Linked DNA regions of Homo sapiens: all the other regions are linked to region 1. The links are contacts of gene promoters, found by promoter capture Hi-C in blood cells and fetal thymus (Javierre and others, 2016). All regions are on one chromosome and are shown on one strand. Each heading gives the region's core, a stretch centred on a gene start or on the middle of the fragment in contact. The rest is flanking DNA. Distances are from core to core; before and after follow the strand shown.

Region 1 (2,757 bases), core at 66-2,565:
TGCACTGACGCTTTAAAATACATTTTCATTTCCTATTAAAAGCTTTATTTGGTCCCTTTCTCTGAATAATGTATGCAGTGCTCATTTCTCTTCACCGGATCGGCTCAAAGCTTGATGAATATGGCTGTGGTTTGATGGGCAGTCTCTGCATCTCACATTGAGGCTCCGCTATGAAAAGAATTAGAATAGCAAGATCAATTGTCAGGCTAAGTAAATGAGCTCTCATCTCGGATCTGATTGCTTATATGAGAGGGCTGAAGTGATTCTTGGCTGCACTCTCAGGGAGAAGAGAGAAATGCATTTTAATTGCCCTGGCAGGGATAACAGGTGTTCTGTCCAGCTACCAAAACGCAAAGCCGCGTCTTTGCACTATAGAAGGCTTTCCCTTAAGTGAGAATACATATTCTTAAAGCAAAACAACTCAGAAACGCTGGTGTGGTGATGCACGCCTGTAATCCCAGGACTTTGGGAGGCCGAGGTGGGCGGATGGCTCGAGCCCAAAGAGACCAGCCTGAGCAATATGGTGATGACCCCGCCTCCACGAAAAAATACAAAAATTAGCCAGACGTGGTGGCGCGCGCCTGTGGTCCCAGATACTGGGGAGGCTGAGATGGGAGGATCGCTTGAGCTCGGGAGGTCGAGGCTGCAGTGAGTCGAGATCGCACCACCGTAATCCACCCTTGGCGACAGAGGAAGACCCTATCTCAAAAAAGCAAACCACCAAAAAAACCAGGGACAGCTCAATGCTCTTTTCCGTTTCATAGCTACTTACACTCAGATTTACAAATACCTATTAACTTGTAGACAGGGCAAGAAATAATTTATGCTGAAGAGACGAAAGACCTGAAAACAGATTTCTGTGTTTTACTCTCCATGTGGCCATCATGGACGAGGACGAAGAGGGACTTGATTTTTCCTTTAACGAGAAGAATGTTTAAGCTCTGAATTTTTAACCAATTTTTATGCTCGTTACTCTGCTGTAGGGTATGTATTTACCAAGATTAGCAGAACACCGCGAGTTCACCAGGCGGAGACAAGTCACTGTGAAGTGGGCAGCACAGGACCCCCCGGAGGGCAGGCGCCGGAAACTACATATCCCGGCGTGCCCCGCTCGCGAGCACAGTGGAGCCTGCCGCCATTCGGTTCACGGCGCTACGCATTCCCTGAGCGCCGCCGGATGCCGGCCTGGGTCCCGCCCAGGGCTGAGGGCCCTCCTGGGCCGGGAAAACTACAGTTCCCGACATGCCCTGCCACGGGTGCGCCTGCGTACCGGAGCTACTGCGCCGGGGAGCGGGTTGGTTTAAAATGCTGTGTTAGTTCCACGGAAACCCGCTCGCCTGCTGCAGTACGGAGCCTCAGGCGGACAGATGGACTGTAAGGTGAGGCTGCCGGGCCCCGGGCTGGTGAGGGGTGGTCGGAGGCTCGCGAGGCTTCGGCTCAGATAAGGACAGTCACCACTCCCTGGCGCCCTCTCCCTGTCCTGACGGAGTCCAGTCTCACTCCCTGGACCTCAGGGCCCTGATTTAAGGCGCTTTGGCGTTGGCTGCCGGTGAAAGCCATTTAGGAGCGAAGTTTGCATTGGCCTGGCTCCAGCTGAGGGATGGGAGATAGCCACCGAAGCCTCCAGATAAGCCCAATACCACCTTTATTTATGTGTTAAGTTGGAGTTTAATAGGTTCCTGGGAAGGCTATTTCGGCGTTAATGTTTGATTTTTGCCACCAGTTAATCCTCCCTGGCTTGCTTACCAGAATATAGGTGTCAGGAATTTGCACTTGTTCTTTACGGTTTCCGCAGTACCTGGCGCTCTTGCTAGAACGGAATAGACATTCGTTAAATTCCTGTCGAAGTATTCTCCTGTTTATTTACCACCTATAATTTCCCAGGCACTGTATTAGGCTCTAAAGATAGAAAAATGTCTATTTTTAACCCCACTTTAGAGAAGTTCGTATTAGTCCGTCTTAAATGCCCCCCAACACATGCTTCTAATTTGTTAATCTTGGCGTGCTCAGGACTAGGTCCTTTAATCCTTTGTGTTCTCTGTTATCCCGCCTTATGGTTTTCTTGAGCTCTTCAGAAATTAGTCTCCAGTCCACACCTCACCCCCAAACTTCAGATCCACAAATTCAATAATGTATTTGGTATCTTTCATGTTTTAAATTTGACATTTTAAAAACTACTCTTTATCTTTTCCACAAAACGGATTCTTCCTTAATAAGTTTGCATTGTCTCAGTGATAGCACCATCCAGGCCAAAAACCCTGTAGTAATCTTGGCTTCTTCCTTTCCCTCATATCTCATATCTAATGCATCAGCAAAAGCTATCTTTCAAGTATATCTAACCACTAACCACTTCTTACAGTAGGAATACCGCTGCTGTCACCTTGGTTCTGGCCAGCAGCATCTCTACTTCTGCTTTTGTTCTTCCACCATTTGGAGTGGGAGGGAGTCAAAATGATCCAGTTAAAAGGAAAGTTGGATAGCATTCCTCAGCTATAGACCTCCAGTGACTCTGAGAATCACTGACAGCAAAAGCCAGACTTCTACAATGGCCTTCAAGGCTCTGTGTATTCTGTTTTTTGTTTTTTTGAAACGGAGTCTCGCTCTGTCGCCCAGGCTGGAGTGCAGCAGTCTCAGCTCACTGCAAGCTCCGCCTCCTGGGTTCACACCATTCTCCTGCCTCAGCCATCCGAGTAGCTGAAACTACAGGAGCACGCCACCACGCCCGGCTAATTTTTTTTTTATTTTTATTTTTGTATT
Region 2 (2,757 bases), core at 113-2,612, 7.2 Mb before region 1:
TTTTTTTTGTCATCTATATATAAGCTAATAATTAAAACCATTTATCTAACAAATGACAGGATTTTAATGAACTCAGCAAAGATTTGAATATTATCTACAAGGTACCACAAGGGATTGGCTGCCTTATACAAAGAGGAATAATTTTGTATTTTACCTCAAGGTGCTTATCAAGAAAGCCAAAATCATAAAAAGACAGACTTGTGGAATTTTGGCGGCTTCCTCTTGAAACTAGAACAAAAACTCTGTTCTAGGTACTTGAGTAGGTTGTTCTGAGGGGCATGTGGGTATACATGTAAGTTCCTGGTGTTCCCATATTAGATATTACTGACTCTCAGTCCAGTTCTGTTTGCATCCCATTCTGCGGCATCCCACAGTTATATGGTGCTGTGAATTATTGCACTGGGGTTGTTAGGGTAGAGAAAACTGAAACAATGAGTCATCCTTGCCTTTCACTTTCCTAAATTGCCCACAAGCTAATGTCCCAAACTCAGTATTTTTCCCTTACAGATCATTCTGAGTATTGCTGCTGTAACAATTTTCCTAAGTTGTTACTGTTATAACATTATTACTCTAACTCTTATTTCTAGTCTTGCTCTGAACTTTTTAACAGTTTTTTGTTGCCTCCTTAACTATAGCTCCTCTATATGGCTTTCAATCCCTTCTCTGATATAGCTCAACTCTTCCTACCCAACTGTTTCCTGATACTACCCATTATAGACACTTTGCTTGTCAGATAAGTACATTATCTGTGTCTTGTATATAATCATACCATTTCCTTGCTCTTGCTTATGTTGCTATTTTTTCTTCCCACCCCTTAAATCATACATCCTTCAGAGTCTAGTTTAAATCTTGGTTCCGACTTGAAACATCCCTAATTTCTTACTTCTTCACTTTCTCAACAAAGATGAATCCTATGTGACAGGTGTTGTGGTGGGTGCATTACACACCTTCCAGTCTACAAGGTTAAGGTATTATCCCTATTGAGTGAGTGCTTGCTGTGTATGCTAAGCTTGTATTTGCATGCAATGTTTCACTTAAACTCTATGAGAACGTGTTATTTACATTTTACAGTGGCTAACTGTAAGTGGAGATGTGAAGTTTAAAGAGGTTAAGTAAATTCTCCAACATCATTCAGCTAATACATAATAAAGCTGACATTCGAATCCATTTGTGTTTGACTTATTATTGTTTCTAATAAGTGAAAACACAGTGTCTCACCTCAAAGACTCACAGTCTGGTAGAGGAGAAACATAGTACACAGACAGTCTTAATGCCTTGTGGTAAGTTCTGTGATGGAGCTAAGCCCACCGTCGTGTAGAAGCACATTAGGACGGGTGCTGATCTAGAATGAGAAGATGAGGAAGGGCTTCCGGGAGAAAATTCTGAGCTGAATCTTAAAGCAGTAGTCAAGAGTTCTGAGAAATGGGAAAGACTGAAAAACTGTCACTGATTGGAAGGTTCTGAGAAGATATGACAACTAAGGTGGTATGCTGGACTGGGGTCTAGGAACATAAAAAAGACATTAATGGAAAAAGTGAAGAGCTCCAAATAAATTATGTAGTCAATAGTCATGTACCAGTGTTAATATCTTAGTTTTGACTAACATGCTGTGCTTATGTAAAGTGCTAACATTTGTGGAAGCTAGGTGAAGCGTATGCAGGAACTCTGTAATTCTTCTGTAAATCTAAAATTATTTCAAAATTAAAAGTTAAAAAATAAGCTTACTCTTAGGAAATAAAAAAGAAGTAATTAGAAAACGTGTTCTATGTAGATAGCAGAGAGTGCAAAACCATGGAGAGAAAGTTGACTTTGAAGGGTTGCGTTTAAGTAATTGAAGCCATTGTTCTATGCTGAGAAACAAGAAGAGAGGATATTCCTTTTTTCTGAGGAAGCTTATCAGAATCAATTAGGGAAAGTTTTCTTGGCCAACAGTAGCCCCCTACCCACCACTGTCTCAAGGAAGCCATATCTAAAGGACCTCTTCATATTGATAGGGTGTGTCTGGGGGATGGGGGAAATTGTTGGAGTTATGAACTATTTTAATAGAGCACAGTGTTAAGTGAAAAAGTAGTTCAAGTTAGACTGGGATCAGACTACCAAAGCCTTAAGAATTTAGATCATTTCCTAAAGTCAGAGGGAAAACAGTGAAGGATTTTAGCTTTATCTGAGCAAGTAATATGGTCAAATTTGCAAAATTAGTCTGGTGTGACTGTGAAAGCTGCATTGAAGGACTGTACCTGGAGACTGTAGGAAGCCCTGAAGAGTGGCCCAGGCTGGAGATGTTAAGCTTCTGAACTGAAGTACTCATGGGAATGGAGAAGAGGCTCCAGCCAAAGGGCAGGTTATATATCGCAAATGCTTTGTTGCTCATACATTCTTGATCTTATACCATTTCATACAACCATGCCTCCTGGCTGACAGCACTTACAAGAGACCATTGATTATAAGATGCATTCTAATTTCAAAGAGATGAACAAGTGAAAATCAAGTGTCTTGAACTAATAAAATAGGATAGTAGTGGTCCCAGTTTGCAACAAATTTAGTGTGTTGTAATACAGTAGCTCTCCCTTGTCCACAGAGGATATGTTCCAGGACCCTCAGTGGATGCCTAGAACCACAGGTAATACCAGACACTCTATATAGTAAATGTTTTCCTATACATACATACCTATGATAAAGTTTAAGTTATAAATCAGGCACAGAGATTAACATCAATAACTAATAAAATAGAACAATTATAACAATATGTCAGCATCA
Region 3 (2,757 bases), core at 92-2,591, 6.9 Mb before region 1:
GGGAATGTATTGCTTCTCCCAACACATTTCCAGTTTCATCCACCACAGCAGCTGCTGTATCATCACAACTAGTTTCAATTCCCAATACTATTTTATGAAGAAATAGTGTTCCAGGATGAAAATTAAAACTTCTTAAAAATTCATAAACTTTCCTTTTTGATGGTTTAAAAAAAACTCCTGCAGTCTTAGTCAAGATTAGCATACTTACTCTATAGATAATTCCTGAAAAAGAATTACAGAAACAACTTATTATTTGCAACTGACATTAGCCAGCTTATTTTTCAATATATAGTTTTACAGAATTACAGGAAAGTTTGTAAAAGTCACCAAAAGTTTGTAAAGGCTATAGCAACATGGGAATATAAATAATATTATGAATGAATATAATGTTCTCCAAGGGGGAAAACAGGGGTCAGATATAAAATTTTTTAGTATTATTATTACTTGCATGCTGTTCCTACCAAAAGACTTACTATTAAGACAGCTAATATAAAGTACAATAATTGATAGAGTCCTCTGAAAAGTGCTATTTATTTTTTGACAGCTAAAATTAAGACAAAATGTGGATTTTCTAAAAAGAATCAAACAACAAAGGCAGATGGAACAGATAAAAATACTGTTAATGTATTCCATCTCCTAAAAACATCTTTCAAAATAAAACTGGATCATTTGGTTCAAAAACAAGAGTTAACATAAACACACACACGCCAACTGCAACCTAACACCTATTTTATCCTTAATTGCAATCTTTGGAATTAAATCTCCACTTTTTGCTACAGGTTTTGTCATAACAAGGATCTTCCCAAATCCTTTTCCCCCAAAATAATAGCAGCCCATCACTAAAGCACACTAGTATTTTCACACTGCGAAGCACCTAATTTTATGCCCCCAGATCATCCGTTCTAAAACTTTCTGGGTGTTAAAGCAGGGCCTTTCTCCACCACACTAAAGGGACACGGCATCCCAGGGATTAGAGATGAGCGACCTATTTGCAGAAGGCAGTTGCGGGCAGTGCAGCCCAGACAGACACAACCTAGAGGAATTAGATTTGCATTAACAAAATCTGGACAAGGAGGATTGTACGAAGCACTACCCTTTCGGGCCAAGAAAGCTGCAGGCTGAACCCACGTGACTTGGGTAGCGCTGGTCTCCTGTCGGCTGTAAGGCGGCGACGGGCGCAAACTGGAACCGCTTTTCCAGGTGCGCAAAAGCGTCAGTGGGGTGAAGAGTGAGCAATTTCACCCACCTTCCACTTGGGCGGCAGTAGCTAGCACTTGTCTCCTTTCCCTACTAAAGACTGTCGACTGCCCTTATCGCTGCAGGAGAAAGCCCGAACCTGGCGCCCGGAAGTGATGTCATCGGAACTGTGCAAGGTCCCGTCCAGAGCTGGCTGCTGTTCCGCTAGCGAGCGGCATGCTTAGTGAAGAAAAGCTTAAAGGCCGTCTTTGCCCAAAACGCTCTCTGTGCGCACCTGCATTTCCCCCAGATTTGCAGGTGATGAGAGTTCTGTAAAATTACACAGCTAGTGACTGATCCAGCGGAGGCCGAATACAGGTTTGTCTGACTACACAACATCAAGTTCCAAACACTAAGCTACATTAAAAAGAAATTTTTTTTTTGCCCTTGGCTGGAATTTGGTTGCTACTGTGAGAAAAGGATGGGGTAGATTATTCGTCATTCATTTTTAAGGGAACTATCATCAAATCTAAACTTAGGGGTGAGGTACCTGATACTTTCATCGGAGAAATAGGATGGAATCTAGCGGCGCCCCCTAGCAGGGTTACCAAAGAACGGAAGTGTTTCTCATCGGACAGTGTAAACCGTTTCTCCCACTTCACTAGGAAGAAAGGGGCTGGCTTATTTTTACAATTAAAAAAAAAAAAAATCGGGAGACTGAGGCAGGAGAACTGCTTGAACTGGGACCCGGGAGGCGGAGGTAGCAGTGAGCCGAGATCGCGCCACTGCACTCCAGCCTGAGCTACAGAGCGAGACTCTGTCTCAAAAAAAAAAAAAAAAAAAAAAAAAAGGCTGTGGTAAATATTCAGTTGCCTTAAACCATCCTATTTTCATAATGCATTATGTTGTCCTTCCTTACTATGTACATGAAATTCAGCATGGTATGTTTTCAAAGTCTTGCACCTGCTTTTTTTTTTTTTTTTCTTTTATTGGTTTGTGAACTTTGTTTTGAACATTGGACAGATTTATTCCAAGAGTCAGGCTTTTCCCCTGCTGGTATTTAAGATTTTAGTAAGCAAGGACCTTAGAATCCACTGTTGTACAGGGCTGGCATATATACCTGCACTTTGCACGTTGTGAAGCTCTGGGTATAAAAGATGAGTAAATCCCATAACAACATGTTGGGAAGCCACAGAGTACAGTCTAGAGGTGGATACAGATAAATAAGTAAATAATTACCAGAATATGGTTGAGGTTTTTTATTTGGAACTTATGTTTTTCAAAAATTTCATTTATGTGTAACAATAATGATAAAGTGGCACTATGTACCAGGCACCTGCTGTAGATTAATTTCTTTCAAAATCCCATGAAATAGTTTCTGTCCTCATTTTACAGGCAACTGGGCCACAGAGTTTGGGTGCTTTGGAGGTCACACAACTAGGAAAAGCAAAGCTAGGATTAGAAGTCAGGACATCTGGCACTGGAGTCTGTTTTCTTAACTGCTAGAAGAGAAAATAACTCACATTTTCTCTAGGGTGCACTGTTGGCCTAAACAAGGGAAAAAAGAAAAATTAAAACCTA
Region 4 (2,757 bases), core at 71-2,570, 6.9 Mb before region 1:
CAGTGTGTCAAGTAGTCAGACTCTTATATTTGACTTAATGTATCCATAAAGAATGGTCAGAGTTCAGATCACTTCTTTCTGAATACTCAATGTGGAAGGTACATGCTGTTGACATAATGTGGTGTAAAATTTACATGGTCAAGGGATAATGTTTGTTTCTCAATTTTGTGATTAAACTAGGTGAAAATAAGGAGTCTTCTGAATATTTCTCTAGTCAAATCAAAAACTTCAGTTTTCTTTCTTCTTTTTAAAAAAGGTTTTCCCTTCTCCTTTCCATTGAAGATGGACTCCAAAGGAAGAATTGATAATAGTTCTCAGTTCTTTTAATGATGGTGTTTACTTGAGACTAAGAATTGCTTAAAATAAAACTGTCCTGAAGAACACCTATCATCCGACGGAGGGGGAAAACGAGGCTAGATTATATTTGGAACAGCTGTGATTTTAAAATACACAAACGCTTGTATTACGGAGTTAGCATACAGAGAGGAATTTCTCATAACCCCTTCCAGCAAATGTTTCCGGAGTATAATGCTCCTTCCGCTCTAGAGACCCATAGAACAGGCATCAAGGGTTAAGGGGACGAAAAGTTAGTTACACTAAGACCGCTAAAGCCTCCAATTTATATGTGTAAATCTTTCGTCTAAACACCCATGATTTATCATACATTAAACTATTATGTCATACTTAGAACATGCCAACACTCAAGATAGTTTTCCCACGTTCCACAGGATGGAGGCCTGAAATTTACATCTCAGCTGGAAGGCAAAGCTGGTGCGGTACTCATCCTATTCCAACCAGAAAACCTTTTCCCAGCAGGTTTGCCGCGCTGCCCACGACTGGCAAACAATGACCTTACAGACCGTGAAGAGGCTGTTGGCTCTGCCCTCGCCGGTGCCTCCGAAGACGGCGACCCGCAGCGGCCCCTCAGGGGAGTCCCCCCTGCTAGACCGACAGCCCGAGCGCTCTGGGCCAGAGAAAACTCAGCAAAAGCCGCCGCTGCTACCACCTCAGCGCCTCCCCCAACCCGCCCCTTCCTTCTCGCGGCCGCACGTCACGTCAGGACCCTGGCAAGACAACGAGGATTTGCGTAGGGGGCGAGCCTCTGAGGCCACTTGGCTCTTACGGCCACGCAGGGCGCCGCAGATGCAGCCGGAGCCCGCTTTTCCCTCTCAGGACGACCCCTAGGCCGCCAGCAGTTCCCTACCGACGAAGGCGACTGTACAGCGTCCACCGCGTTCGTGCCCACTTACCCGCCGCCCCACTCCGGGCCGCCGGCTCGCAGCAGGACCAGCCCGGCTGCTACGGCCGCGGATACACGCCCTCAGGCCCGGCGCTGCGCAGCTTGCGGAAGCTTTCCCGGACAGACTCGCTGCCAGCGGATTGGCTGCGAGCAGCGCCAATCTCACGTTGCCCCCGGGCGAGGCGGGACTCAGTGCCGCGCTCTCTGCACCCGCTCTGCCGCGCGCGTGCGTGCTGGGTGCGGGTGCGGGTGCGGGGTTGGGCCTGCGCATCGGGTGAGACGCTGGCTGCTTGCGGCTAGTGGATGGTAATTGCCTGCCTCGCGCTAGCAGGAAGGTAGTGTGGTGTGACTAACGGGTATTTATTATATCCTCGATGGCTCGAGGGCCCCGTCCCCTCTACTCGTCCTGGTCCGGGCGCGAACGCTATAGGGCAGCTAAGGGCGCTCCCCGCGGGGCGGGAAGCGAAGCCGGGCTTGCGGGCGCGCACACGTGGAACGCGTTTTCTGAGCAGGTCTGGGCTCCGGGGTGTTCTGGCTTGGTCTTTGTTGCGTCCCATTCCCCAGACCCTTCTGGGTGGAGGACTTAAAATTTGTTTTCCAGGCAGCAGATTTAACCCATGGCAACTGTAACTCATCTTGTGTGAGTGGCGGTTTATAGTATTGTATCCTGTGGCATCATACAAGGGGTGCAAGTTAAACTCTTTAAAGTTAATCACGATTTTTGCTCTTGGCCTTCTGGGTTTATCCGTACGCCGAAGACAGGCACCTGTATTACATGCTAAGGAAATGTGAATACCAAAAATTGATCCTGAGGAAAGTCTTGATTAGGTTTTTTTGGAATCGCCTTTGAAATGTAATTTCCCTCACCTTGGCAGTGCAGAAAGTTTGTGATTTTTATTGCCGAAATAGCTTTCAACATTTTGAAATTGACTTAAGAGAATGTTGGCTGTGTATGTCTGTATCTTGCATTTCTGTTGGCTTTGTGAACCTAATTGTTTTGGATTTAGTCTGATCTTTAAATAAATGATTTCTTTGTGTTCTCTCTAATGGAAGTCTGTGAGTTCTCTGATCTTTACTTCTTTTTTAGGCACACCTGTTGTCCTTAACTGACTTTCCGGGTCATCAGCACTTCTTCAGAAGTGTTCCTTTTCCCTCCCAGCAAATATGGAAGACTGACTATCCTGATATTCCCAGACATTCTTTGCTGTGATTTGTAAGCCCGATATAAACCCTTCCATTTGGTACACATATGGTATAGAGTGCTATATTCCAGGGGCTATGCTAGCGATGTGTGATTGATATAAAACCCCTGTCCTCAAAGAACTCTGAGTCAGGAGCAACAGACAGAAACACATATTAATAGAGTAACTTGTGATGAGGTTAATTAGAAATGAGGTAAAGGGGGACTGCAGGGGAAGGAATACCTAATCTGTTGGCAGGTGAAGGAAAGGAGGCTGCAGCAGGGAAGAAAGGCTTGAAGAGTTGATACTGAACTAAATCTGGAAGGATGATTAGAA

What was found. Contacts are between HindIII fragments. The CHiCAGO score rates a contact against its expected background, and 5 or more counts as called.
Region 2: a fragment that was not itself captured here is called in contact with the fragment with the promoter of CCDC150 in region 1 in 1 of 17 cell types (non-activated CD4 T cells); the score reaches 5.8 in non-activated CD4 T cells.
Region 3: a contact is called between the fragment with the promoter of OSGEPL1-AS1 here and the fragment with the promoter of CCDC150 in region 1, in 3 of 17 cell types (non-activated CD4 T cells, total B cells and naive CD8 T cells). The highest score is 8.0, in non-activated CD4 T cells.
Region 4: the fragment with the promoter of ORMDL1 here is called in contact with the fragment with the promoter of CCDC150 in region 1 in 4 of 17 cell types (non-activated CD4 T cells, activated CD4 T cells, total CD4 T cells and 1 more); the score reaches 13.1 in non-activated CD4 T cells.

The regions. Positions count from the first base shown.
Region 1 is chr2:196,638,400-196,641,156 of GRCh38, forward strand. CCDC150 (coiled-coil domain containing 150) reads left to right here and starts at 1,316. Exons shown (of 28, transcript NM_001080539.2): 1 at 1,316-1,379. The coding sequence starts at 1,368. It overlaps LOC105373823 (a long non-coding RNA gene), which reads right to left and starts at 1,286. Exons shown (of 2, transcript XR_923747.3): 1 at 997-1,286; 2 at 29-168. RefSeq lists enhancers at 828-1,047, 1,068-1,117, 1,102-1,639, 1,640-2,177. The HindIII fragment of the contact is 4,677 bases long and covers 109-2,757 here.
Region 2 is chr2:189,444,099-189,446,855 of GRCh38, forward strand. All of the region lies in intron 1 of WDR75 (WD repeat domain 75), which reads left to right. Among named protein-coding and RNA genes, the nearest start is that of WDR75, 4.0 kb to the left of the region's middle. The HindIII fragment of the contact is 711 bases long and covers 1,008-1,718 here.
Region 3 is chr2:189,761,439-189,764,195 of GRCh38, forward strand. It overlaps OSGEPL1-AS1 (OSGEPL1 antisense RNA 1), which reads left to right and starts at 1,342. Exons shown (of 2, transcript NR_102429.1): 1 at 1,342-1,554. It overlaps OSGEPL1 (O-sialoglycoprotein endopeptidase like 1), which reads right to left and starts at 1,354. Exons shown (of 9, transcript NM_022353.3): 1 at 1,247-1,354; 2 at 1-222. The coding sequence starts at 202. It also overlaps a transcript of ANKAR not described here and a transcript of ORMDL1 not described here. RefSeq lists enhancers at 837-996, 1,283-2,029. The HindIII fragment of the contact is 3,776 bases long and covers 1-1,429 here.
Region 4 is chr2:189,783,019-189,785,775 of GRCh38, forward strand. ORMDL1 (ORMDL sphingolipid biosynthesis regulator 1) reads right to left here and starts at 1,321. Exons shown (of 5, transcript NM_016467.5): 1 at 1,251-1,321; 2 at 1-105. It overlaps PMS1 (PMS1 homolog 1, mismatch repair system component), which reads left to right and starts at 1,432. Exons shown (of 13, transcript NM_000534.5): 1 at 1,432-1,575. RefSeq lists enhancers at 608-1,494, 780-859, 950-1,009, 1,020-1,249, 1,800-1,849 and a silencer at 1,390-1,439. The HindIII fragment of the contact is 2,480 bases long and covers 1-1,349 here.